Regions from separate parts of the Homo sapiens genome. Here all the other regions are linked to region 4. The links are contacts of gene promoters, found by promoter capture Hi-C in blood cells and fetal thymus (Javierre and others, 2016). All regions are on one chromosome and are shown on one strand. Each heading gives the region's core, a stretch centred on a gene start or on the middle of the fragment in contact. The rest is flanking DNA. Distances are from core to core; before and after follow the strand shown. Region 1 has its middle 36 kb from the start of ADRA2C. Region 2 has its middle 13 kb from the start of ADRA2C. Region 3 holds the start of LOC124900651 (a long non-coding RNA gene). Region 4 holds the start of LINC00955 (long intergenic non-protein coding RNA 955).

Region 1 (7,085 bases), core at 775-3,274, 230 kb before region 4:
CCAGGGCTGCTCTCACATGGGTGCTCCCCTGGGATGCCCTCCAGGCTCATCACTCAATGCTGTAGCTGAGGCTGGCAGTCAGCTGAGGGCCGCACTGGGGCTGTTGAGGACAGGCCCACACGTGGTCTCTCCATGTGGCTTGGGGTTCTCCGGGATGGCGGCAGGGCTCCAAGAGGGAGTGAGTACTCCGAGATGCCCAGGCAGAGGCTGCTCAGCGTCTTCTGACCCAGCTCGGAGCCCCAGAAAGTCACTGCTGCCATTTTCCACTGGCCAAGCAAGGCCCTGAAGCCAGCCTGGATCCACGCAGGAGAAAGTTTTGAAGGGAGAGGGGCACGCACTGCCAATGCCAGCCTTCGTCAAGGCCAACCACCAGACAAGGAGATGAGGGCCGCAGGGAAACCTGCAGGAGGGGCATCCTTCTCCTTGTTTATTTCCTGCCATTGGCAAAGGCTATCAATGACCAGTCCTGGGGCATCGCAGGGAAGGAGCTGTCAACAGGCCTCAGGCAGACAGGCCCAGTTGCCAACCGGATCCATCTGCCTGGGGCCACCATAACAAACTAGCGAAGACCAGGGGCTTAAACAACAGAAACTGATGACCTCACAGTCTTGAAGGCTGGGAGTCCAAGGTCAAGGTGTGTCATAGTTCACCTGTGTTGCTGTAAAGGACTCCTGAGATTGGGTAATTGATAAAAAAAACAGGTTCATTTGGCTCCCAGTTCTGTAGACTGTACAAGAAGCATGGAGCCAGTATCTGCTCGGCTTCTGGGAGGCCTCAGGAAGCTTCCCCCAATGGCGGCAGTGGGAGAGGAGCTACCTGTGCAGACCTCACATGGTGAAACAGAAGCCAGCGAGTGGGGAGGTGCCAGGCTCTTTCCAACAGCCAGCTCTCACAGGAGCTAACACAGTGAGAACTCACTCCTGACTGCGAGGAAGACACCAAGATATTCATGAGGGATCCGCCTCCGTGACCCAAACACCTCCCACCAGGCCCCACCTCCAACATCGGGATCACATTTCAACAGGAGACTTGGCAGGGTCAAGCCAACCCTATCTAAACCACTGCAGGATGTCACCAAGGCTCCAGGCTCAAGAGTCAAGGCTTGGTGTCTCCCGAGGCCTCTCCTTGGCTTGGAGATGGCCACTCTCTCCTTGCAACCTCATGGGGTGTTCCTGTCTGTGTCTCCATCACCTCTTCTCATGAGGTCTGCAGTCACACGGGGTTAGGGCCACCCTCATGACCTTACTTTACCTTAATTTCTTTTTTTTTTTTTTTTTTTTGAGACAGAGTTTCACTCTTGTTGCTCAGACTGGAGAGCAATGGTGCCATCTCAGCTCACTGCAACCTCCGCCTCCCAGGTTCAAGAGATTCTCCTGCCTCAGCCTCCTCAGTAGCTGGGATTACAGGCACCCACCACCACACCCAGCTAGTTTTTGTATTTTTAGTAGAGATAGGGTTTCACCATGTTGGCCAGGCTGATCTCTAACTCCTGGCCTCGGGTGGCCCCCACCCTTGGCCTCCAAAAGTGCTGGGACTCCAGGTGTGAGCCACCATGCCCAGTCACTTTAGTTACTTCTCTAAAGGCCCCATATCTGCCTACAGTCCTATTCTGAGGTCCAGAGGGCCAGGACTTCCACATGAGGCTTTTGTGGGGACACAAGTCATTCCACAGCACCAAGGGAGTGCGTTTCCTCACGAACAAGGAGAAGGGCCCACGTCACAGAGGCCAGGAGAACTGTCAGCCAGGAAAAGTGTGAGGTGGACATTAGACCAGAAGAGGTTTCAGAGGGTTCCAGGAGGAGATGTTTGCAGTGGAGACTGGAAGAGTGAGCAGGAGTCAGCTGGTGGAGGGGCGGGGGATGAGGGGAGATGGAGGGGGGTCAGGAGCATTTGGATAAACAGGAAGAGGAGGAGGCATCTCTGGTGAGGGGTCTGCAGGGACACACACCTGGCAGTGGGATGTACAAGGTGGGGGCTGTCTCAGGCCAGGAGTCACAGAAGCGGACCTGAGACAAGGGTGACTTCAGGGAGAGCTCCCAGGAAACCCAGGAGGGCATGGCGGGCAGGAGCCCCCGAAAGGGTGTGAACAACCAAGCCCGAGACCCTCCCCACACCTGCACAGCCCCTCTCAGGGGTGGAGGGTGACAGCAATCACTGGTGGGGCAGGAGAGTGGGCAGCTGAGAGCCCACCTGAGAGTGCGGGAGGGGTGGGAGGCGGGATCGCCCATGAACCAAAGCTCCAAACTCTCTATGGGACGTCACTCACAAACACAAAGTCAAAGATAAAATCGTTAGGAATTTCAAGGCGGAGACCTAAAAGCATAAACCCCCAGAACGGGGCCCCTCTGAGCGAAGGGAGGGGTCCTGGGTGAACGCACTGGTCTCACAGAGAGCAACTTTGGAGAGACTGCAGTGCCCATCCCCAAGTGCCCTGACGGGGTCAGGGAGGGAGCTGGGGCATTTGCAGGGCTCCTATCGTCCGGGCTGCCGGGTGGGGGGCTGGGGGAGGAGGGCCACGTCCTGGGCACACCCTGCTCGGTGCGCACAGGGCTGTGGGCTTTCCGGCACAAGGCCGCCCTCGAGCAGGGGAGGCGGGGCTGGCTGTCTGGAGGCTGCACTCTGGGACGGGGCGTGCGTGAAACAGTTCAGAGTCTCTAGAGCATCTGCCGTGTGGCCACAGGAAGCCCCAACATGGGGGGACCCTCAGTCCGGGGGCCACTGCCCTCCTCCTGTTTTCATCCTAATCATGGTCAACCCCTTCATCAAAGGAATCCTGACCAGCCCAGACTTGAGCCCTTGGTCCTGCTCCACCTCCCAGCCTTGGCCGACCCTCAGAGGAGACCCCCGAGCCCCCCACCCTGAATCAGCCCTTGCCACCCAGTGCTGCCACTGTCCCGCCAGACCAGGCATGTCCAGTCCCCGGTGTCCCCAGCCTCCCAAGCTAACAGGACTCTCTGTGGCTGCTGTTCAGCTCAGCTTCCTCAACGCGGGGGTGGGGACAGCCACAAGTCCAGGACCCTTACGAGAGGCCCCGGAAGCCAGTGGGCTTCAGAATTCAGCCTTGACAAAGCCACGTGGTGCCTGTTCTGTGTATTTCACCACACCCATAGGGGGCTGGGCCAGACCGTCCCATTCAAATGAATCCACTGCTCTGCAGCCAAACAACATCCAAGAAATAGAGATCAATCATCAGGCCAGGTTTTGTCACCAAATGAGTTATTAAAGAAAAACACCAAGAAGACATACTTGAAGTGGTCAAAGCTTTGAGGATAAGGACTGGGACCTGTGACGCCCTCTCCAGCCCCTCCCCCAGGGGTCAGCCTTGGATTAAAAGATCCTGGGTGGGCCAAGTTCTGAGCATGCAGTTGGTGCTCACAAGTCAGGGGTGAGACAGAATGTGGCTTGCAAATGGCTTCAGGCTACAGCTGTCTAGGAGAGAAGGCATCAGTGGTCCATGCCTCCCCTGCCCCAGAGTCCAGGACAAAGGTGCTGCTTTGAAAAGGCCTGGGAGGAATGCAGAGGGGGCCCTTATTCTATTACTGCCTGTGGGCGTCTATTTGGTAAGACTAAGTGCCTGCCATGGGTCCTTTGCCACCTTTACCGCTGTTTTCATATGTTCTTCTCCCGTGGAGTTCTACCACCCCCGTCAGAGGCTTGTTTATTGTTGAAGCACAAAGGAGTGGCAGGTGTGACTCGGAGAGAGGCCCAGCCTCACAGCAGGCAGGGAGGGGCCTTCACCTGGGGCTCCTGGGACCCCAGAAAGCCAGGGGTCAGGGAGTATGCAGCAGACTCACGCTTCTCCAGGCTCGGGGGGCCAGGGAGCACGTCACAGAGGCCTCAGCATTGGGGCGTGCCCGCGGCCCGCCCCTGCAGGGTGATGCTGGGTGAGGCGCCCCCCTGCTCTGAGCTTTGGTGTCCTTATCTACAAAAAAAGGAGAGTAAGAATAAGAGGAACAACACATCCCATCCTCCTTGGGGTGCCCCAGGGTTAAGAGATGACACAGAAATGGGAAGAACCATGCGGCAGACTCAGACTCCAGGGCTCTGGGAGAGAGGGCTCTTCACCACCATCTGCTCCATTGACAGGCCAGTCAGCTTGGGGCCTGGGAGGAGCATGGGGATGTGGGGCACTTCCGCTCTGCTGGGGAATGTTAAGCAGCTCTCCAAAGTGGGGGGGCTTCACAGAAAGCCTTCTCCGCTGCCCTTGCTACGGTTGCCAGAGAAAATAAGGGATGCCCAGTTAAACTTTAGTATGAGATGGGCAATGAGTAATCTTTAGAATAAGTATTTCTTAATATTGCATGGGATGTATTTATACCAGAAATGTAGACATTGTTTATTTGAAATTGACGTATAGCTGGGTACCCCGGATTTTTATCTGCTAACTCTGGCCCGCCCATTGTCCAGTCGGGAACTCAGGGGCCGGCAGGGCCCAGCTTCCAGCTACCACAGTACCTGTGCTGAGCAGGGTCTCGATCCTGGGAGGAGTTGGCAGGCAACGTTGTCCCAGACCTCCACCCTGCCCCATGTCTGGCTACATCAGAATTCAAAGATCGAGAACAGAGTTTGGGGTGAGACTGTCTTAGGGCTGGGTTGGCCACTTTAGCTATGGGTCCTCTGGCAAGTGGCTCAACCTCTCTGGGCCTTGGTTTCCTCATCTGCTTAAAGGAGGAGGTGCCGACCTCACTACGGTGCTGTTGGGATAAGCAGCAGCACAGGGCTGTCCTCAGGACCTGGAACTCGGCACACGGGGCCCATCCAGGGACCCAATGGGAGGACCCAATGGAAACCAGACACGATGACATCAGCTCCTTGTAGGATCCTTGTGAGGATGAGCAAAGTCACCTGTGCGTAATTCCTGGATCACAGTTTTGAGTCGTCACCTCCAGGCAAAGGGTGACATGTGTCGTTCATCGCTCATTCACCAGCTACCAGCTTCAGGCACCAGGCAGCTCCAATGCCTGGTCATTGTTTTTGACCGGCTCTTTCCCTAGCAATTAATTTTCACGGGCGGCCGGCAGCCTGTTGCCGACCAACTACTGATAGGAATAAATCAGCGTAGGGAAGATGATGGAGCCTGGGGAAGGCAGGCTTTCCATTCAGATGGAAATCAACTCCCACTCTCCACTCCAGTGCCCTGCCTCTGCCTCTCGGCCCCTCCACAGGGTCATGTTCAGGGAAGGGAGGGCACGGCCCCACCCTCTGTTGGGGCTACCTGCCCTGATGCACCTGCATGGCCCACCAGCAGCACAGTGCCTACCTGAGGTCCACAGAAGTTTCAGGGGCTCAGGAAAATGTTCGAATTTCTTAGAAGTCAGAAGACTAAAATGAACTTTTAGTTTTAGTATGTTTAATTTTAATGTGATGTTTTCCATTTTAGTGTATAATGTGAATATGCACATCTTTCTAAGCTGCTCCACTGTGGTAGACCAGACCTGAGCTCCCTGTGGGCAGGGACATCGGCCCCTCCCTGTGGAACCCCCAGCCAGGGCTCTGCATGCTGCAGAAGGGCATTGCATGCGTGAATGAGGGGCCTAAAGCCACTCTATCAATAGATCCCCTTCTTGCTGGCGTGACATGTGGGAGGAATCACTGTACTGAGCGGCTGGCGGAGCTGTGGCCGTTCCGTGAACCCAAGCCCATCTGAATCCCTCTCGCCCTCACGGCAGAACTGGGAACCCAGGGTTGAGCCTGGCATCGTCTCCAATGTTCCCTGACTTGCTTCGCCTGAGACTGTGACATCTTCAGGAGCAGGTGGTGGCGTCCTCTCCTCCTGCCCCCTGCACCTGGACTGGGGCATAAACTGAAGCACCTACATCCATCTTTCCCATTTCCATATGGGGCTCCACATCCTTCTAAATCCACGAAGGCTTGCTGGAAACCACAAGCCCTGCAAGGGACATTCTGAAAACCCGACCTTTTGTTGCTGTTGTTGTTGAGATGGAGTTTCGCTGTGTCACCCAGGCTGGAGTGCAGTGGTGCGATCTCAGCTCACTGCAACCTCCGCCTCCCAGGTTCAAGCAATTCTCCTGCCTCAGCCTCCCGAGTAGCTGGGATTACAAGTACTGGCCACCACGCCTGGCTAATTTTTGTATTTTTTTGGTAGAGATGGGGTTTCACCATGTTGACAGGCTGGTCTTGAACTCCTGACCTCAGGTGATCTGCCCACTTTGGCCTCCCAAAGTGCTGGGATTACAGGCGTGCCTGGCCTGAAAACCTAATCTTTAGAGGAAGAGCCTGAGGTCAGGGAGGCAAAGCAACTTGCCGCCAAGCTCGATGATTTTAAGCTCTGCTCACAAAGTAAGGCTAATCATATTAATAACATAGCTTCACATCTGCATAATTCTGAGTCACCCACGAGGCCCTTGCACGGTACACAGGCACGCGAGTGGCCTGCGTCAGCGAGGGTCTGGGGGCCAGGTGTGCGGGTGGTGGAGTGGAGGCCGGAGTATCCCCGCCATGATGCTTTTCCCTGAGCTGCGTCACTGTTCACTCCGTGCCTCACTGTCTGCACCTGGAAGGTGAGGCCTGGTGCACAAAGGGCCCGGTGTATGGATGGATGAGGCTCAAACCCATGTCTGGCCGTGTGGGCCAGAGCAGAGGTGTCCTGGAGGCTCCTTCACCTCTGGGTGTCCCTGGAGCATGGATCCTCATCCTGCTGCTGCTGAACCATGAAATCCCCTCCCACGAGCCTCCGTTTCTCTTTCTGGGTGGAGTGATGGAATGCACTTTGCCAGATATCCTTAAAGACCCTGGAGATCGCTTGGCCTGGGCCCGGCCTGTCAGGCAGCCTGGGGAGCCCTGTTCTTTCCCCTTCTCTCGATTTTTCCTGTTCGTTCAAGCCCCTGCTCTCCCTGAATGCCTCCCTCTCTGCCTCTCTTGGCTCAGGAAGAGTTTCTGGAGAGATGGAGAAGAAGTCAGTGCCCAGGAGGAGGTCCCCACAACCTTTGGGAGAGTCTTGTGATTAGGAACAAAAGCTCATCCCTGGGCACCCTGTATCTGAGTCAGTGAGTGGCCCCAGTGGTGAAAGTTGGGAGGAGGAGAGAGGAATCCCTGAGGGCTTCCTGAAGGAGGCAGACTCCTCA
Region 2 (7,466 bases), core at 3,756-6,255, 180 kb before region 4:
GAGATTTGTTTTGTTTTGTTTGCTTTGAGGTTTTCTTTAATAGGAAAATGAAGAAGAGTCCTTAACATGTTTGGGAAAATAAACTAAGAATGCTCACATTTGCCATGACCCTGGGAGCTTCCTCCAGCTTCCTGCATCGATCCTGATTCCCAAGTATTTGTGGAAGGCAGGGATGCGGGCTGAGCCGTCCTCGCCACTGCCCACAGCCCTGGAATGTTTGTGTTGGAACCTGGACACCTTGGGCCCACACTCAGCAAGATCTGCTATGTTTTCTTCTCGAGTTTTCCCATCCCAGAAAGGCTCTGATTTAAACCAGAAATTTGTCATAGGAGGCAACGGGACTGGACTGAGATAACTGTGAGTAAGTCAAGGTACAGGTGATGTTGCTGTAACAAGAAAACCCCAAAGCACAGCAGCTTGAGCAAGATAAAAGATCCTTTCTGTCCCACATGGAAGCCTGGGCAGGACTTCCTGGCCCCTTCTGCCTTTTCCCTGCCATCCCCAGTGGGCAGCCCCAGTTTCAGGCCCCTTTTGCCTTTTCCCTGCCATCCCTAGTGGGCAGCTTGGGCCCCGGCACCACATCCATGGCATCACAACAGTGGGATGGGGGCCCATGGCCCTTCCATCACAGGGCGACTTCACCTGGAAGTTGTGTTCCTCCCTTACGCTGATGCCCCATTGGCCAGAACTTGGTCACATGCCCACCCCTAATGTCGGGGAAGCTGGGAAATGTAGTCTTTACATGGCAGCCATATTCCCAGATCAATATCCTATCACCGTAGAACAGAGTTTCTCCACCTGTGTCTTGTGACATTTTGGGCTGCACTCGTCTTTGTCGTGGGGGCTGCCCTGTGTGTTGTAGGAAGTTTGGCAGCATCCCGGGCCTCCATCCACTAGACACCAGGAGCACTTCTCAGTTGCAACAACCAAATATGTCTTCAGATATTGCCAGATATCCCCTGGGGGGCAAAATCACCCCCAGTTGCAAACCACTGGGCAGATCAAGGGCCTGCAACTTCAGGGCTGCAGCACCCAGGTCACAGGAGGGCTGGGAGGGTGGTCCGTGGCACATACCCTATCAGAAGGAGACAGCTACCTCTCAAGTCCACCCTGCAAGTTCTCATGCAGGAAGAGGGACAGAGATCTGGATTTTCATGGGAAATATACTAATGGTTTTCTGATAGCACACAATTAAAAAAAAGAAAGAAAGCCATGGTTATGGAATGAATTGTGTCCCCCCAAAAAGATATATCCACGTCCTAACCCCTAGCACATGTGAATGTGATCTTATTGGATTGGAGCCCATCCTAATCCACTATGACTGGTGTCCTTATTAGAAGAGGAGACACCCAGGGAGGGAGGCCATGTGCAGATGGAGGGGGAGACTGGAGAGATGGGGTCACAGCCAAAGAACTCCTGGAGCCCTCATGGGGAGCACAGTGCTGCCAACACCTTGACCTCAGAATTCCGGCTTCCATTGCTGTGAGAATAAATTTCTATTGCTTTAAGCCACTAATTGAATTTGCTGGAGACAGAAGGAGGCTCCGCAGACACGTGCTGATAGGCGAGTATGCAGGCCCAGCCGCCACTGATGGACATGCTCACTCTCCATTCATCCAACAAATGTTTATGAAGTGCTCACTCTGTGTTGGGCACTGTCTGAAACCTAGGGATACATCAGTGAACAAAATGGACTCCTAGAGCCTAAAAGGTTGTCAACTGAAGAATGACAAGGTTCGTAAGTTTGGAAAGGAGAGCCTTATTTCTCATAAAGGGTTGCAGCCTGCAGAGCAGCCATTCTGATGGCTGAGAAGCGTAGCCTCAGGCCAGAAGCTGCAAACAGACATTTTGAGGGAGGGGCAAAGGGAACAGGAAGGTTCCCTTTGCTGAGCAGGGGGTGCCTAATGTACATATTCAACAAGCTATGGAAGGAGTCATGAATATACATGAAAGGAGAAACACGTGCGTGCACTTGAGCTTCCTGCCTCTCCATAGGACCCACGTTCAAGACACGACAATGGCAGCATGACCTAAGGGTGGAGTTTTCCACCCTCTGATGTGGAAAGGTGAAGCGGAGGACACGGAAACCCTTGCTGTACATCCCCCGCCGACTGGCCAGAAGCTCTCTGTGGCCCGTGGTCTCCTATCAGGAAGGAACGCTGGCTGGTTGCTGTGTCAAACTCGCACCAGGGAGGGGCAGGTCAGGTGTTGGTTGAAACCAGGGCGGAATCTTTCGGAAGATCCGGTTTCTCTGCAGCCCTTAGAGGGGAAGCCCAGTGATGGTTAGCAAGGGAGGGAGGGGGTACAACGAGGTGGGTCCCACCTCCCTCACATCACGGTGGGAACTCAGCTTCCAAGGTTTCTCTGGGGTCCCTTTGGCCAAGGGGTGTTCTGCTCAGTCTGTTGGGGGTCTTAGGATTTCATTTTTATTTCTCACGACAAAGGACGTGAGAGCGCTCTCTGCAAAGTGTGACGTCCTTCAGGGATGTATTTGCCTTTTCTCTGGTTGGAAGGTGGTTGGAGTTGGGGTCAGGGCTAGGGTTGGGATGTTGATGGGGTTGGGTTAGGGTTGGAGTAGGGTTGGGTGCTGATGGGGTTAGGTAGGGTGAGGATTAGGGTCAGGGTTGGGGTGCTGATGGCATCAAGGCACAGTGGAATTGGAACGCCGACCATCACCTGTTCCTCTGCCAGCTACCAGCCTCCCGCATCCCTTTCCTTACTTCCCTCTGCCCAGCCCCTGACCTCCTGGCTCTTACCTTAGTCTGGTGCTCTATAACCTTCTGACGCGCTGAGGGACTCACCCCAGGACTCAGTTTATCTTGCTGACAAATGAGTGGGTTGGCTCTGATTTCTCTAAAGGCTCTCCCACTTCTAAAAATTCTAATTGGGTGGGATCTTCTTCAAGTGAGCAGGAACTATCAGCTATTGTTATGCAGGAACACAGGAGTACAAAGGTACTTTCGAAATAGAGCCAGAACAAAAGATGAAGTAGATTGCATCAGGCTCGGTATTATACTTAGAGAAACTATTTAAAAACCAAAGTACTTTTGAGTGCAGTGTTCATTGGAATTGCCCTGGGAAACTGTGTTTGACTCTAACAAAAGCTTTGTATCGACAGGATGTGTTATCGCTCAATTTCTAGGAAAGAGCGGTAATTAGATGCCTCACACCAGATATTGTTTCAATTGCAGGAAATAAAATACAAATCCTGCGAGGAGGCACATTCCTCCTTTTCATGACCGAGGAGGCACCCTTCCTGGTTCCAGGTCACAGGACCCCCGCCTGCCGCGGTCTTGGAGGTCCGCCCCTGCCTTCGTAGCTGGGAGGGAAGGGAGAAGGTGAAGTGCAGGTGTCTTTGGGAAACTTACAGCACCGGCGGCAAGGCCCGCCAGTGCCCAGGAGGGGAATTCCACCGCCCCCACGTCCCCTGCCCCCCACCAGCCAGCCCTAAGCGCCAGGCCTCGGGGGGCAGAGGGACCACAACTGCATGCCTCAGGTGCCATTCTGCCCCTGCCCCATGCACTCCCCCAGTGTGTCGGGGGGGCTGGCCATGGGGCATTCGGCCTCAGGGGAGCTGCCTGAGCCCAGGCCAGTTGGGCCTCGCCAGGAGGGACCTTCCAGGGATCTCCCTCGCTGTTTGGGCAGGAGTGCAGCCCAGCCAGGAGCCCCCAGGGGTGGCTGGGAGCCTGTGCCCCTCCTCATGCCTCCTGCCCCACAGGTGCCACTCCAGGAGACCAGGCTCTGCTCTGTCCCCGTGCCCCCCCAGTGCCCTCCCACAAGGGTGCCTCAGCACAGAATGCCTGTCCCACCCTGACCGTCTTGGCCTGCTCTTCTTTAGCCGCCAAGAACAGCCCAGCCATCTCCTCCAGGAAGCCCTCCTGCACCCCTGGAAGGGTTAGATCCCCCCTGGGCTCCTCAGGACGCCTGAGGGCTGCCAAGGCCCCAGCATGGGGATGAGGGGACGTGGACTCATTCTTTGGCTGCCTCTTGTGCCCTCCGGGGCTACTCAGGGGAGGGACCTGGGACCAGCCCGGGGTGGGATCCTCAGGAATGGCTGGCAGGTGGGTGCGGAGGTGGGGAGAGTGGGCATCCTCAGTCCTGCTTGCTCTCAGGCAGGTTCTGGGCTGAGAGTGGCCAGGTCAACCTCCTCTCTCCTCAGCCGGCAGATGCAGCCAAAGGTGCCAAGGGAGGGGGTGTAAAACCTGCAGGAGTCCCCCAGGTCAAACTGCAGGGTGTGCCGAGCCTCAGGGTTCCAGGGGACAGAGGTGGAGGGGCCCTGGGCTGGGGCATGAGGTGACCGGCCTGGTGGGAGGGGACAGGGACAGGGTAGCCTGGCTTACCTTGCTCCTGATCTCTCTACCTGGGCCTCTTTTTCCCAACTGTTCCCCTGGCTGAGATTCGAGGTGTGGGACAGAGGTGGGGTACGGTCTCCCCAGAGCCCTCCCTGCCAGGCCAGGCTCAGGCAGGGCTGCCACCCTCTTGGGAGGCCTCCAGCACTGCTGGGTTCCCCTAGGCCCTGGCGTGGTGCCGGCCCTCACCATTGCCGACTTCCCTATGGGGTCCCTTCTCCCTTGCTCTACACAACCTACCACCGTCTTCCAGGACCCTGCAGAACCCACCCCGAGTGGAGAGTGGTGCAGGCCCCTCGCAGGGTTCTTGGAGACACCAGGCGCCCGGCTGTGTTCCTGCCGCACACCCTTACTGTGGGAACTGAGCCGGCCTGCCATCCACCTCCGGTCCCCAGCAGACCTGCTCTGCAGGCTCAAGCGGGGCCAGCTCCCAGAAAGGAGGGAAGCCCCAGCTGCCCAACCCCAGCTCACATCCCGAGGCTGCTGTGGCGGCATTCAGTCGTTGCTTCAATTTCATTATCAGTCCTGCCAGGGAGCATTCTCTGGTGGAGGACTCTTCCCAAGTGACCAGGCTGCTTCCCTGGGTGGGAACCTCATGCTGTTTAAATATAAACAGTGGAGTGTGCATGAGGAAGGCCAGCACTCCGGGCCACCTATGGGGAGTCCAAGGTCGCAGGTGCTATCTCCCCACATCTGTGCCTGACTTAGTGGAGCATTTCCATTGACCGCCCCGCCTTGGTGACTGGCACGGCAGCTGGCTGCCTGCAGGCCAGCCCACGGCTGTGCTAAGCTCCCTGGCCAGGCATCTCACCTGCTCTTGGGGTTCCTGAGAAAGCTGCAAAGGGACAGGATCATTCATGAACAAATGTGTGTGGCACGACCCTCCTGCTCCCACCTCTGTGTCCAGAGTGGCTGCCCGAGGCCTTATGTCTGCAGGTGCAGGGCCGCCCTGGGCCATGGCCAGATGGACCACGGGCCACTCAGTGCAGCTTCTCCTCTGCTCTCCCCTGCACTGCCCGGGCGCCATCGCCTCTTGCTGGGTTCTGCCAACCAGGAGCACTCAAGTGGGACTCGGGAGGTTTGGAAGCTGAGGGCATGGTCCTGTGACTGCTTCTTCACCAGAGGGGGGCAGACACGTGGGCATGTCCCACCGGCTGTGACTGCCTGAGATCTACTCTTGCTGGTGACGAAGGTGGCGGCCAGGACCCACCTTTCCTACAGCCCCTGACCCTGATCATCATTGCTGGCCCCCCAGACAGTCCCTGAGCATCAGGTCCATGGGGCACGTTCTGGTGTCAGCTGGGAGGGGGACAGAAAGTCAGAGACTAGTGAGGAAGAGGAGCGAGGATGGGTAAAATAGAAAGGCAGGACAGGGCTAGATGGTGCATGGCCCTGACCCCTTTCAACAGTGCCTAGTGGGCAGGGCGGGGCAGGTGACACACACACACACACACACACACACACACACACGCACATGACATGGCTCTGCAGGGCTCAGGGCCGTGGCAGCAGGGGCCGGGGCTCTGGGCTCATGTTTGCTACGGGAGACACGCTTGGCATGTAGTGAAACCAACCAACAGGTGGAAGGGAGGCAGCGTGGCGTGCGGGGTGATGCAGGGCCCAGGCTCTCCGACTCCACCGGCCTCGGGCTGGGGTTTCACAGACCTTGCCCATCCACACACGCTGACGGCTGACGGCTGTTTGTTGAATCCCCACTCCTGGACCACAGGCCACTCTGTCTCTGATGTTTCCAAAGGGAGCTGAGCAAGGCCCGCCCCATGGGATGGGCACGCTTCCCATCGGGACCGGCATTCATGTGGGTTTTGGAAAATCTGGGCCCTTGTCTCATTAAGCCATTAGGAGTGGGTAGCCATGGAAACCATGGTACTTGGGTACTCAACACGAATGAATATTTATTCAATTAGCAGGGCCGGGGTGCTAGGCGGACCTGGCTCCAGCTGTGACTGGATGGTGGGGGCTCCCAGGAGCAAGAGCCACCTTTTAGAGGGCAAACCACGCCCAGGAACTTCACCTACATGATCTGATTAATCTTTGCTGTGACCCCTTGAGACAGTCACTGCTGTCCCGTGGTGTGGAAGAGAAGGCTCAGGAGAGCCAAGCAGGACATGAGGCCCAGAGGGTCTGCCCAGGAGACACAGCAAATGGCCCTTCCACCTCTGGGGTCCCTGGGCTGGCAGCTGACAGCTCTGTGTCTTGGTTCCCCCGCTCGATGGCCGTGGGTCCTCCAGCAGCTCACTTGAATTCCCTGTGCCCTCGTGGGCCGTCTGGGTTGGGCCCAACCTAACGCCTCCTCAGGTTGCTGGTGGAACTGGAGGGGCCTGTGTGTCCTGTGCCTGGCCCAGGGCCTGGCACACAGTAGGAGCTCAGCCAGTGCCAGCTCCAGCTGGAAAGAACAAGGAGAGCCCGGGGCTACCCAGGAGCACGGAAACGTCCCTGGAGGCTCTTCCCAGTGGCACACGGTGCTGGGGGAGTGGGGGCAGCCTCTCATTCTCCTGGTCTGATTCTGCACTGCCCGGCTGGTGCTTCTGGAAGCTTTGGGGACTCATTCACGTGCCCTGCATGTGGGGGCGTGTGTGGGTGTGCACCCACGTCTACATATGTTGCTCCAGAAAGGCAAGGCCAGGGGCCACCCTTTTTCATGAGACACGGATGGCTTTGCAGATCTTGGTTTTTCCCTTCTGTCCCTGCTGCTGCAGCTGGCAGCAGTGCACAGCCTGTGTCTGTTGTTTGCATCTCCCTGCCTCCTGCACACATGCAGGGCCACAGCCTTTGGGGATCAGACCCTCTGGGTCCTCTGCCTGGTCCTGGTGCATCTCCCACCCCCAAGCCGCTGGTACTGCTGGGCCCGCCACTTGGTTTGGTAAAGCAGCTGCACACGTTTGTTCAGGAACAATGCTGTCCCTGGCTGCTTTCCCACTGCAACGCAATAGCTGAAAGGCAGAAGCCACCCAGATGTCCGTCATCAGGTGATGGATAAACACAGTGTGGTCCATCCATACCACAGAATATTATTCAGCCTTGAAGAGGAAGGACATTCTGACACAGGCTACAACATGGATGACCCTTGAGGACACCATGCTCAGCGAAATCAGCCAG
Region 3 (6,833 bases), core at 1,329-3,828, 210 kb before region 4:
GGGGGAGGGAGGGGTGAGTCAGCAGAGCCCCACGGGGGACAGTGATGTTTAGGGCAGTGTCACTGCTCTGCACGGTATTATAATAGTGGATGCATGCTACTATATATGTGTCCAGACCCAGAGAATATCCAACACCAAAATCAACCCTAATGTGAACTGTGGGCTTCGGTTAATGACGCCACATCAGTATCGGCTCATCAGCTGGTACCTCCTCAGTACCAGATGCTCGACATGAGGGAAACGGGGGCACATAGGAACCCTCTCTATGATTTTCTCATTTTTTTTCCTTTTTCTGTAAACCTAAACCTTCTTAAGACATAAAGTTCATCATTAATTAAAACATGCAAAAGCTGGTTGGTAAAGACACGAGGTTTTTGCTGCTCTTGAGCATCAATCGGTTTGCGTGTAGCCAGGCAGAAAGTGGCCTGGGGTGAAGCTGGCCTGGTCCCCTGCCTCTGGGTCCAGCCCCCAATTTCCCGCGAGTTTGTGGGGAGGCTGCTTCCAGTGCGTATGTGCTCCAGGTGGGAGGAGGCCAGCTGGGCCTCCAGGCATCTCAGCTTGCTTGGTCAAGGCTGCAGGAGGCTCCTTCCCTCCCTGGGGCTCTCTCCTGAGGGCAGGCAGCTCTCTCCCACTCTGCAGGGATGGTGCAAAAAAGGCTTGGGCCCTACTTGTGGAGCCCCGCCTACCCTCCTCTTTCTCTCTCTGCTTGGATGTTCAGAAACCCACTTTCCAGGAGGGACCTGGCACACAGCACTGCAGCGATGGAAACAGGCCAGGGAGTGGTTGTGAGATGGAAGAGCTGAACCTTTGCCCCCAGCACTGATTGGCTGGCAGCCTTGGCTGCAGCCAGGCCTGGCACAGTGAAAATGCAGAAGGCTGTCCAGGCAGCACCAGCAGGTGGCCACTCAGCTCTGTGCCCAGCACGTCGCCAGCCCTCTTTGTGGCCCTGGGCTGCCAGCCTGGGTCTGCGTGGCCTCTGCTTCTCCCGGGGAAGGGAGCGGCTGCCTGAACAGCAGCATTGCATTTCTCGGCACTGCAGATGACACCAACCTGCAGGAGGCCCCATCTGTGCTCAGGGCTCCCAAAATTCTCTCTGGGCTGGACTTCTCTCCGAGCTTCACACTCAAAGCTCAAGAAGCCTCCTCGCCTTTCTCCCAAGTCCACCCCCTCCTGCAGGAGTCCGGTCATTAGCCTGGGGTTGGGGGGCAGTCTCCATCTCTGTCTTTTCCCTTTCCCTTCCATCCCACCCTCCATAGAGTCCTATTCATAGAGCACAGGGATCATGGCTGGCCCTGGCTGCCCCTCCTCAGCCCTGAGCATGACCATCGCTTTGTGGGAGCTCAATCCATAACCACATTATGGCCAGGTGCATGGCTCATGCCTGTAATCCCAGCACTGTCATCCCAGTACTTTGGGAGGCCGAAGCAGGAGGATTCCAGGAGCCCAGAGGCTGGAGACCAGCCTGGGCAACATGGTGCAACCCTATCTCTACCAAAAAAATATAAAAATTAGCCCGCATGGTTGCACATGCCTACGGTCCCAGCTACTCAGGAGGCTGAGGTAGGAGGAGGGTCGCTTGAGCCTGGAAGGTTGAGGCTGCAGTGAATCCTGATAGTACCACTGCACCCCAGCCTGGGCAAAAAAAACAGACCCTGTCTCTAAATAAATAAATAACTGAATTGGGCACCTGGGCAAAAGTGAATGCCATAGCCACTTGCAGCGACCTGGGTTACTGCTGGGGGAGTGGTCCTCACATGCCTGCTCAGGCTGATGAGACAGGACCCCACACTCATCGAGTGGGACCCGCAAGTGTCGCTGCCTCCCTGGCTTTGCTGATGAGACCACAGAGTTGCCGGGGTGCTCATATCCAAGACAGAAGCAGGGCTGGCCCCGCCCCCGGCTCCCCCACCAAACCTCTGGAAATTGCACCAAGGCCCAGGTGGGTGAATCCCAGTGAACCGAGAATCAGGCCCAAGCAGCTTGGCATCAACCCCAAATCCCGCCTACTCAGGGCCTCAGTTTCCCCATCTGCAAAGTGGTGCTGTCCTCGCCCCAGCCGATCATGCTCCAAATTCGCAGCTGCTGGAGAACTCTCTAGAGGAGAAGGAACAGCTGAGACACAGCTAAAGCAATACTGGCGTTCACCACAGAAAGAGCAGGTTCCATCCACGGAACTTTCTGGAATCCACATGAGTGAGGCCTGCCTGAGAAGCACGTGCAGGATTGGGGTCTCACCCCTGTGACAGTGCAGGACCCAAGTTGGGCCTATGCGGAGGTTCCCAGCGCCTTGGACTTGGTGCTGAGCTCTGAGCCGGAGCCCGAACCACATTTCCTCTTTGAAGGTTTGCTAGAAATCTCAAAGGTCAGCTGTTCTCATGTTTCCAGAATTTATTGATTTTGTCTGGGCTGGAAAGGCAACAAAAAGGCTTTTATTGCTGTTTCTGTGGCTGCACTGGGGAGCGGGGAGAGGATGCACTGCCCCCTGCACCTGTCCCAGGGGCCCGTCGGCCAACATTCAGGCCCCGAGGGGCCCCCATCGCCTGTCCCAGACTCACCCCACCTCACCCGACCGGCCTGTCCTATTGCGTGTCCTCACATGCCTGTGCCAGCTGATGAGACAAGCCCCCACACGCATGGAGCAGCACCTGTGTCACTGCCTCCCTGGCTTTGCTGATGAGGTGATGGAGTCACTGGGAAGGGCGCATCCAAGCCAGAAGGAAGGCTGGCCCCGCCCCCAGCTCCCCCACCAAGCCCCTCCCCACCCCAAGGCTCCGGGGAGTCCAGCTCAGCCTCCTGGAATGAGAGGAGACTCAGGGGCACTCCGAGTGCCTCTGAGAAGGGGACAGCCTGTGACAAGGGTGGGAGAGGCAGAGACGAGAAAAGGAAGGCGAGGGCATGGGCAGGCCGGGCGCAGGGAGCTCTGAGGGAAGCTGGTGCACTGCTGGCCACCGCCTGAACTATCATTCATTCCCTCACTCATTCATTCTTCACTCACGCATCGCTCCAACCTCCTGGACTGAATTCCCCCTTGTGTGCCCAGCCCCGGCTGATGCTGTCCACCCCGGGAACCGTCAGCCCAGGGCAGCTGTCCGGGAGCCCCTGATCCATCACGGGATCAAGTGCTCCAGGTCCGTGCCTTAGGAAGCCAGGGCCCATCCTTCATGCAGCGGGCAGGCTGCACCCGCAGTGTATTCTAGGCTTAGGATCCTATTCTAGGCGGGTGTAAGGAGGCATTGCCTTGGGCCAGCTGGGTGGGGTCCCTCTTCACCCCCGCCCCGGGGCTGTGCTTGCTCGGGTTGTTCCGATTCTCACCGCCCAGGGCTGGGAGGCGCTGCAGACTGTGCGTGGGCGTCTTACAGGCTAGTGAAGCAGCAGTGTTCACATCCTACCTGGACAGGTCCCCTCGACCCCCAAGCCTTGCTCCTCTCCTATAAAATGGGGGTGCTTCAGTCCCCACCCTCGCCGAGCGCTGCTCTGGGGCCGCTGAGAGGCTGATCCCCTTGAGCTGCCATATATTAGACATGCACCACCAGCTGCTGCCATCATGCCGGGTACGTGGCCCTCCCCACGGAGGACAGAGGACCCTCACTGTGGCTGCCGTGGGGACCTGTGCGGAGGAAGCTGGAGGCTGAGGGGCTCACCCCAGGGCTGCTTTTCCCAGGGGGTCCCAGCTTGGTCCCAGCTCCCTGCATGGGTGGCCTTTGTCTCAGCTGCCACCTGTGACTGAGGCTCCTCCCACCCAATTCCTTTCTCCTTTAGGAGTGTCAAACCTGCATCATGGTCTTGTCACAGCCAAGCCAGCCCTGAGCTCCATCCCCTGAAAGGGCAGCCCCTCCGCAAGCCCCTTCCTCCCTCCCAGCCCTGGCACAGGGCCTGGCATGTAGCAGGTGCTCAGTAAACACTCATAGGTGGAGACAGCAGGACAGACGGGAGCTCTGAGTCTCCTCCCCTGCAGTCTTGGTGATGAGCCCCTGCAATGAAGGGGGGCTGCACTGGGAAGTAGTGAGCATCCCATCATCAGAGGCATGCAAGAGGACCAGGATACCCATTTGAGGGAGACTTTGTAGGCACAAGGGTGAAACATGAATCAGCACAAAGTATGGCTTCTGAAAACTTCTTTCTTGCCTCAAAACAACAATAAAGCCCTATGCTGGGCGCTCCAAGCTCCATGGGAACGCTGCAGGTTGAGCAAGTGATTTGGAAACATCGCAGTCAACAAAGCTGCCGTCTCCCGGTGCGCCCCTTCTCGCTGGGTTCTAAATGAAAGCTGTTCATTAGGGCGACAGGTTTACCATCTTGCAATGAGAATTGCTGGGAGGTTTTTCCCCCTGAGGAGGAGAAATCATGTTTGAGTAGCGAGCACAGTTGCAGGGGACAATGTTTTCGTGGCTGTGGCTGTGGGAAGAGCTTTATTTGGGGATTTTTCCTCTCCGTGTCAGCAGCACAGGAGAAAATGACTCCAGTGAGCTTCGCTGCTGCAGTTTTATGGCACCGCCAGGACGCTGGGTCTGAAATTGTGCCCATTGCTCAGAGCTCAGTATCTGTTCCTGGGAACTGGGAGGCAGCGGTCGCATCAGTGTGGTCTGGAGGTTCCCAGGTTGGGGGCAGCACAGGCCTCTGGCCCCGGCTTCAGCAGATCCAGCCCTAGCACAGAGCACAGCAGAGCCTGGGCTCAGGGGAAAAGTCAGGGTTGGGAGCTAGGGAGGGGCCCACCTGGGGAAGGCTTGCTCACTCACTCGCTCAAGCAGGGGCGGGGCTGGAAGAGGGCCCTCAGGGCAGTCCTGAGCCGAGGACACCACTGCCACCAGGGAGCCAGGCCAGAGGCCAGAGGGAGAACTTTCTCCATACAAGCCAGGTTTGAAGGTGGCGCAGAGGCAGGCTGGGGCTCAGCAGCCGAGAGCTCCATGCTCCAGGGGCACAGACCCCTGCCCTCGAGGCTGTGAAGCCCAGGGTGTGGCAAGGGAGTGCCGTGCAGGGCAGGACACCTGGAGGCAACTATCAGTGCAGGCCCAAGAGACACCAGCCTGCAGCTGCTCAGGGGCCAGTGGGGCTTCAGGGAGGAGGTGGGCAAAGCAGTCTTACCTCCCCTGCAGGGCCGCCTCCCACCTGAACGACCGCCTGGCGGCAGTGTCTGACGTCCCTGTGCAGAATCATCTCTGTCCCCACCGGAGGCCCCTGGGGCCGAGTGGCTTCACTGCAATTTTGGGAGCGTGTGGGACCTGCCCTGGGACCCCCTCTTCGTGGGGCTGCCAAGCTGGGGTATCATACTGCAGCCGCTGGTGGTCATCCCAACACTTTGTGGGCATTCATGAGAAGCAGGAAAGCAGGTGGGCACCAATGAAAGGAGACTGACCACTGACATCCACACACCTGGACGCAGAGGGGACTCCCAGCCCCAGCGTCTCAACACGGTGGCTGGAGGAGTGTGATCTTCCTCCCCTTAGTGCTCCTTCCCCAGCCTGGAAGAAGCTTTCAGGGCCTTCCTTCCACTGAAGCCTCAGTTCCCCCAGAGGGCTGGCTACAGGCTCACGTGGGGCCCGAGGGGAGGAGTTTCATGGGGGGGAGGAGTTTGGTGGGCGGAGGAGTGTCATGTGAGGGGAGGGGTTTCATGTGGGGGGAGGAGTTTCATATGAGGGGAGGAGTTTCGTGTGAGGGGAGGAGTTTGGTGTGAGGGGAGGAGTTTCGTGCGGGAGGAGGAGTTTGGTGTGGGGAGGAGTTTCGTGTGGGAGGAAGACGTGGGGAGGAGTTTTGTGTGGGAGGAGGAGTTTCGTGTGGTGGGGAGGAGTTTCATGTGAGGGGAGGAGTTTCATGTGGCGGAAGAGTTTCATGTGGGAGGAGGAGTTTCGTGTGTGGGGAGGAGTTTCATGTGAGGAGGGAGTTTCGTGTGAGGGGAGGAGTTTCATGTGAGGGGAGGAGTTTCTTGCGGGCGGAGGTGTTTCGTGGGGGGAGGAGTTTCATATGGGGGAGGAGTTTCATGAGGGGGAGGAGTTTCGTGTGGGTCCTGTGGTGCTGCCTGCTGAGGGCATAGACATGTGTCCCTCCATTTCTGTTCTCTCCCTTGGCCCGGCTCAGGCCACGTCCAGAGAAGCCACAGAAACTCCAGTAACTGTATGTCAGCTGAGACCCCAACCCAGAGCCGTGGGCGGCTCAGGGCTCTGGGAGGCAGATTTGTGGGGCAGCTGCCTGCCTCCCTGCAAGGTCCATCCCCGGCGAAGTCACAGCCCTGTTGGGAGGGGCTCCCACTGCGTCATGAACGCTGGTCCCCGGCTCACCTCATGTCGGGGGCACCTGGGGATGGAATTCCAATCCCAGCCCCAGCCTAGATCAGCCCTGTGGCAGGTGCGGGCCGCCCTCTGCTCCCAGCCTCGGCCTCCCACATCCTGGGGGATGACCAGGCGCCTCACCGAGCTTTGGGAGACAGGGTCCTGGTAAAGGGTGCGCAGGGTCTCCAAGCTGCACGACATAGCAGGTGCTAAGCAACTCAGCTGTTGGCAGGGTTTGTTAAGAGAGGTGCAGGAATGTGCTGAGGTCACACAGGGGGGACAGGACAGAGCCAGGATCTGAACCCCCCTCAGGGATAGGCCATTCTAGACTCCTGGCATTGCATGTCACAGGCTGGGTGGGGACCTGGCAGGAGTCCAGGGCCAGCCCTTAGGGCAGGTGGAGCCACAGGGCCTCTCCTTCTCCAGGAGCAGAGGTGCCCCATCCTCCTGCCGGCTGGGGGCTGGGCCGAGGCCTCTGGCGAGCCGATGGGAGATAAGAGCTCTGGCTGGAGCTGTGCAGACAGGCTGGTAGTTTTCCGTCATCCCCGCAAATGACAAACCTTGCAGGAG
Region 4 (6,589 bases), core at 2,870-5,369:
GCACTGACCCGTGGCCCTCACCAGGAGCCTATGAGGTCGGTGCTCCTTTGTCTCCGTGGACCAATGTCATCCAGCGAGCAAATAGTAGAGGTGGGATTTCAACCCAGGCCATTGGTACCATAGCCCACATGCTAACCACTGTGCTCATGATCACCAGATCACTGTAGGGGGCGAGATGGCAAAGTCAAGGAAAAATGACAGAGCAGAGGGACAGAGCTAGTCTCTCCCAACACTGAGAAGTCAGAAAAGTCTGTGGGTCCAGAAGCAGCTCCCCTTTAGGTGTAGGTACTTTTTTTCTAGTGTCTGCTGCCTACTAGGTCCTTTAATAAATATTTCCTAGGTAGATAGGTGAATGGGTGAATGGACAAGTAGATAAATGGATGGATGGATAGATGATTGGAGGATGGAAATGGGTGGATGAATGATGAATGGATAGGTGGGTGGGGGGGTGATGGATGGATGGATGGATGGATGGACGGACAGATGGATGGATGGATGGAGGATGGAAATGGATGGATGGATGGATGGATGGATGGATGGATGATTGGAGGATGGAAATGGGTGGATGAATGATGAATGGAAAGGTGGGTGGGTGATGGATGGATGGATGGATGGATGGACGGATGGATGAACGGACGGACGGATGGTTGGATGGATGGAGGATGGAAATGGATGGATGGATGGATGGATGGATGGATGGATGGATGAATAAATGGGTGGGTAGGTGGGAGTGTTAAAGGACAGGTGGATAGGAGGATAGAGAGAAGGGAGAGTAAAGGGTAAATAAGTGAGTGGTTGGATGGATGGATGGGAGAATAAGTCGGCATGGTGCTAATGTGATATTTATTTTATGTCCTCAAAGGCTTTTTTTGCACATATGATAGATTATTCAGAAATTACTTTGGGTTTTAAAAAATTAAAATTTGTATGTACTGATGATACAAAATCAGAAACGTATGTTTTTCTCCCTTAAACTATTGAGCCGAATCTACAAATCTTATCATTATAAGTTTAAGAAATCTCAAAACTCTTTCTAAAAGTTATTTCATTAGCAGTAGTTCCTACTACTTAATAAAACACCTTCAAAAACTTAATTACATCAACAAACTTAATATATTAGATCTTGCCTGACAAATATTCCCAAATTAACTAGTTCTTTTAAATTTAAAAACATAACTTCCTAATATGATGAAACTTAGATTCTCTTAAATGTTCCAACATTTTATATAAACTTTATGATTTCAACTGATAGTCATAAGTCTAAATCAAGTAATTCAGTGTATATTTCAAATGTTAATTAAAAGGCCAAACTGTCCCTTCTAATAACCCCAAATCTCTTAAACATCACAAATGCTTATAATACCAAACACGCCCAGATTCCTTCACTCAAAACTATGAATACTGGAAGTTGATACCATAAAACATTTCTGTACCTAATTCTAAATATTCCCTTGGGTTTAAACATTTTTTTTTTTCACTGAGGAAACAACTAAGAGATTTGAGCAGCATTATCTAGGTAATTGGAGGTTAGAAAATACTAGCATTATCAGTCAGTGTACTGATGGTATTTTCATCTACCACACAGACGGGAGTTGCAGAAACCTATTTATGTATTGTTACAGGGACTCCAGATCTTAGAGTTTGGTTTTGAGCCCTCGACCCCATATAGAACTTGATCCTGTTCCTTTCATGCACATCTATAAACCCCACCCAGGGGGTTCAAATGGGTTTTGCATTTATCAGACTTCTCCATGATTGGCATAGTCTTCCTGGTGAGACCTGGAGTGTGGCTCCCAGACACCCAAACTTGGCTGGAGTCCTGAAGCAGGCGCAGCTAATCTGGCTGATCTACTCCTTCACACTCGTGGAGCAGATGGGGAAACAGACCAGAGGGGCAGCCCAGGAAGCAAATTTGGATGATCCAAATCTCAAAGCTGAGTTGGAATCTGTGGACAAAGCTTCTAAAGTCATACGAGTGATGTGTGGTGTTTGGATGGATGGATGGATGGATGGATGGATGGATGGATGGATGGATAGATGGGTGGATAGAGGATGGATGATGGGTCTTTGGGTAGATGGGTAGATGGGTGGATGGATAGGTGGGTGGACCACAGTCTGATGGGTAGATGGGTTGATAGGTGGTTGTTTGAGTAGGTGGATAGAATGGATGGATAGAAGTTTTATGAGGGTATGGGTGAATGGGGAGTAGTGGATAAGTAGGTGAAGCAGTCAATGGGTAAGTGAGTGAATGTGTAGGAGGATCATGCATGAATGGGTGAGTGGATGTCATGGGTATATGGGTATAGGAGAGGTAGATAAGTATGTGTACAGATGGGCAAAGGGAAGGATGTGGGCGTGTTATGGGGTGGTTGGGTAGGTTGACGGATGGATGGGTGGATAAGTATTGTGTTACATGGGAGAAAACAAGTTTAGTTAGGTTGATGGGTGAATGGATGAGTGAGTAGTTGGATATAGACATGGAAGCTGGCTAGCTGGGTGGATGGATGATGGGTGAGTGAATGGATGGGTGGGTGATGAAAGAAAGGGAGGACGGATGGGTGGATGGATGGATGAGTGAGTGAATGAATGGATAGGTGGGTGAATGGAATAGGTGGATGGATGGATGGACGGATGGATGGATGGATGGATGGATGGATGGATGGATGGATGATGAAAGAAAGAAAGCATGAAAGGATGGGTGGGTGAATAGAATAGGTGGATGAATGGATGGATGGTTGGAAGGATGGATAGATAAGTGAATAATGAATGGGTGGACGAATATGTGGATGAATGGATGGATGGGTGGATAGATGGATGATGAAAGAAAGAAAGGGTGAATGGATGGGTGGATGGGAGAGTGAATAAATGAATGGGTGGATGAATGGGTAGATGGATGGATGGGTGGATGGATGAATGAATGAGTGAGAGGATGGGTGGGTGATGAAAGAAAGGAAGGATGAAAGGGTGGACGGGTAGGTGGATGAATGTATGATAGGATGGAAGCTGGCTGGATGTGGGGGTGGATGAGTTGAATGGACAGATGGGTAAGAGGGTGAGTAAGTGGGTGGATGGTGAAGGAATTAATAATGTTATTATTATAAACATTATTATTATTATATGAATAAGTTTCTGGTTTAGAAGACTAGTATCCTTCTGAGAGCTCTCTCAGAGTGTCAGGCTCTACAAATTTGCTTCCTTGGGCTGCCCCTCTCTGGGTTGTTTCCCCATTTGCTCCATGAGTGTGAAGGAGTAGATTGGCCAGATTAGCTGCGCCTGCTCCAGGGGCCCAGCCCAAGCCCAGGTGCCTGGGAGTCACACTCCAGGACACTCGACCCCTGCCCTCTGGGGCCAGGGTCAGCAGCCTCTGGCCAGACCCCTCTTCTTAAAACAAGCTCAGGTAGGGAGAGAACACTGCCCTGCTGGTGGTTGCCATGGAAAATCCTTCATTGCTTGTTTTTCTCCTCGACTGATTAAGAAAAGGGAGTCATAAAATGACAGGGCGTCACTGGGCCTTGCCGCTGGCCAGCTTTGACTTATCCCCTGACATTTCCCAGGAGCCAGCTAACCTTTTCTGCCACAAATAGACTGAAGCGGGTCCCTTGAGGCAGTCTAGCCTGAACAGAGTCCATCTCAGGGGAGGTCAGGACCCGGGATACAGCAACAGGAGCCGGGTCATTCAAATAACCAGGAAGGAGAGCAGACAGTGCTGGGACCGAGAGCACAGCGAGGACCCTAAGGAAGCCACCAAAAAACAGCCTTCGCAACAGTCAGGACTGCTGTCAGGACCACCAGGCAGAGCCCAGGGAGCAAACACCTGCTCTCCCTCCCTGGGGTCCCCGCTGTGTTCCCAGGCATGACACTCACCTCCCAGAGCAGCAGCCTGGCCTCTGCTCCTCTCCGGGCAGAAACGACACAGGGATGCTCCCCAGTCAGTGTGCTGGGGTCCTAGGGGCGTTGGCGACGCCGGGGCAGGTTCCACCATAGATCCTGCTGCCTCAATCCAGAGGGCTTTCGGAAGGCGCCCCTGCTATGGCATCGCAGAGGGAGGAGACCCGGGATGTGGCCCAGCAGGGCTGTGTATACACCAAGATGCCTCCGTCTGCCCTTCCAGCTGTAAATCAAGACTCAGCCGTGGAGAGGGAGGATAAAGTCCACAGGGGCTGAACCTCCTCCCCAGCCCTGGTCTCAGCCTCAGGATAGAAGACTTTAACCCCAGAAGGCCCTCAGGAGGCCAGGCAAGCCAACACCCTCGAACCTGTGCCACGATGGGGGGCGATGGGGCGAGGACAGAGCCTGGAGTCACAGACCAGGAAACTGGGTTGCCTCAGCTCACCCAGGGTCCCAAGGCCAGGACAGGGCAGAGCCGAGACCAAAGTCCCTGCGAGGCCGCCCTCATGAAGGGACTCGGGAGGGTTCACTGGGTGAATGGATGAGCCTGTACAGTGAATGAAGGCCGAGCCCACGGCTGGGAGCTGCCATCCCCGGCTTCCTCTGAATACAGACAGCCTGATGCGCAGGTCTCAGATCTGGAAGGGGGCCTGGGCCCCTTGACCCCATCTCTTCATTTACTGCTGGGGAAACCGAGGGCCAGCCTGCCACAGTAATGCCGTGGGTGCCTGAGTCATCTCCTCCTCCTCCTCTTCCTTCTCCTCCTCCTCCTCTTCCTCCCCCTTCCTCATCTCCCCCTTTCCTCCTTCTCTTCCTCTTCCTCCCTTCCTCCCACCCGTCTCCCTCTCCTGAGCCCCAGCTCTGCTCTGCCACCAGGCCTTGTCCCTTTTAGGGTCCAAAAGAGCAGGTCCTGCCCTGGGGCCAGTCAGCATGAAAAGGGATGACCATCTCTTCCTCCAGAGGACAGGGACTCTATGCCCCAGGCACTCCAAGGTCAAACCTGGCTCCCACTCAGACTATGAAGACAGCATCCACTGGGTCAGAGTCATGAAGCCACGGGTCCCAGGGGACAGCTCAGGTGGCCACAGGGCCAGACTGGCAGGCTGCCCTCTGCCTCCTGTTAGCACAAACACCCCTCCCCTCAGGCCTGAACTCTGACATGAGCCAGTGGGCACCGGGCCCTGTCAGGAACAGGAGGAGGCCACAGCCATCCTCAGGAGAGAACAAAGGACACACAGGCCTCCGGGGAGAGCAGTGGGTGGCAGTGACAGGAGGGGCTACTCAGAATTCATGAGCGAGGGCCAGGCAGCTTGGCCACCTTGGAGGAGCCGCTGCACCTATCCAAGCCCAGGTTTCCCTGCTGAAGGCAGCACCGGTGTCTCCTCCTGGGGGTGTTGAGAGGGTCATCCCAGGCCAGGGAGGTCGAAGGGCTCTGTGAGCTGTGAAGCGCTGGGCACCTGTGGGGCGGGGGCGTTCATCCTGCGGTCAGTCTGCCCTGGAGGGCGGAACACCTACGCACTGTTCCAGCGGGAGGGGTATGGCGTCCAGTGAGGCCCAGCTCCCCGAGCCTTTCCTGATGGCACTGGAAGACAGGCAGCATCCCAGAAACATATAAAAGGCCCAGGGGCTGGTGCTGGGGGCACATGACCGGGGCGACCCTGGGCTGGGCTGTGTACCCCCGGAGCACTGCAGCAGACAGAGCAGGGGTGCGAACTCCAGGGTCCCAGGATCCATCTCCTTCCCTGCAACAAACCCCTCTCTGCTGGAAATCCCTGGAGCGGTTCCTCCATCCTGCTCTGAACCTCCTTGACTGATCCCACCGACCGGTGCACTGCACAGCTGCCTGGAGACCAGAAGATTCCATACGTCTCCCTCCACCTGCCCAACACCCACAAGCCCAGGAGGCTGCCCTCCATAATTCTGGCTTTTCTGCGTATTTTTCAAAGCACAGGGCACTGGAAGAATGCCTGCATGAGACATTCTTGCAAGCCAGAGCCCGCTGGAGGCATGCAGGAGAGCAAAACCTCCCTGCTGTGTCTGCAGATTTGCACACATTTCTGGGAAATAAACCTGCGGCCCCTCCTCTCCCCGAGACGTTGGTTTATCTTCCAGGGCAAAAGGATACCGTCTTTTCTGTGGCAAAGATGGGGGCGAGATGGCTAGCAGTCCCCTTAGAAGATCAAGGGTTTCCTCGGCTGACACAAACCTGCTCTGTTTGCCCCCTGAGATGTGGGGGACAAGGCAGAGGGATAAGGACATGCTGTACCCTGAGTAATAAATGGTCAGGACCCTTCAGGCTTGTCGCTTCCTTACTGGTCACGTTTATGGAAGTGTGGCGCAAACGTGGCCGCTACTTGGTCAAGTGACTGCGAGTTCCCGTGCGTCTCGGGTCACCAGTGTTTCTCCCTGGCTGTGCCCACACCTCACCTGGCCTCCCAGGCCCTGTCTCCCTGAGCTTCTCACAGCACGCTCCCTCGCGGTCTGTGTACCGCCTCTTGGGTCGCCTTCCACACCTTGAAGCAGGAGTGTGAGTTCCTTCCGCGGACCCGGTGCGGGCTCCTGTGGCCCCGCTCAGCCCGTTCTCATCCTTCAGGGAGTCTCAGATTATTTTTGTTTGTTGTTTCTTTTTTTTTCCTTCCAACTTCTATTTGAGGTTCTAGGTATACACGTGCAGGTCTGTTACACGGGTAAACCGCGTGTC

The links. Contacts are between HindIII fragments. The CHiCAGO score rates a contact against its expected background, and 5 or more counts as called.
Region 1: a contact is called between a fragment that was not itself captured here and the fragment with the promoter of LINC00955 in region 4, in 2 of 17 cell types (M0 macrophages and endothelial precursors). The highest score is 5.8, in M0 macrophages.
Region 2: a contact is called between a fragment that was not itself captured here and the fragment with the promoter of LINC00955 in region 4, in 1 of 17 cell types (endothelial precursors). The highest score is 5.5, in endothelial precursors.
Region 3: a fragment that was not itself captured here is called in contact with the fragment with the promoter of LINC00955 in region 4 in 1 of 17 cell types (endothelial precursors); the score reaches 5.2 in endothelial precursors.

What each region holds. Positions count from the first base shown.
Region 1 is chr4:3,799,086-3,806,170 of GRCh38, reverse strand. No RefSeq gene overlaps it. Among named protein-coding and RNA genes, the nearest start is that of ADRA2C, 36 kb to the right of the region's middle. The HindIII fragment of the contact is 2,479 bases long and covers 785-3,263 here.
Region 2 is chr4:3,749,771-3,757,236 of GRCh38, reverse strand. No RefSeq gene overlaps it. Among named protein-coding and RNA genes, the nearest start is that of ADRA2C, 13 kb to the left of the region's middle. RefSeq lists enhancers at 1,702-2,901, 2,410-3,115. The HindIII fragment of the contact is 3,798 bases long and covers 3,107-6,904 here.
Region 3 is chr4:3,780,431-3,787,263 of GRCh38, reverse strand. It overlaps LOC124900651 (a long non-coding RNA gene), which reads right to left and starts at 6,447. Exons shown (of 2, transcript XR_007057997.1): 1 at 6,273-6,447; 2 at 4,101-4,644. RefSeq lists an enhancer at 5,770-6,402. The HindIII fragment of the contact is 5,786 bases long and covers 1-5,471 here.
Region 4 is chr4:3,574,399-3,580,987 of GRCh38, reverse strand. LINC00955 (long intergenic non-protein coding RNA 955) reads right to left here and starts at 4,119. Exons shown (of 3, transcript NR_040045.1): 1 at 3,865-4,119. The HindIII fragment of the contact is 6,504 bases long and covers 1,961-6,589 here.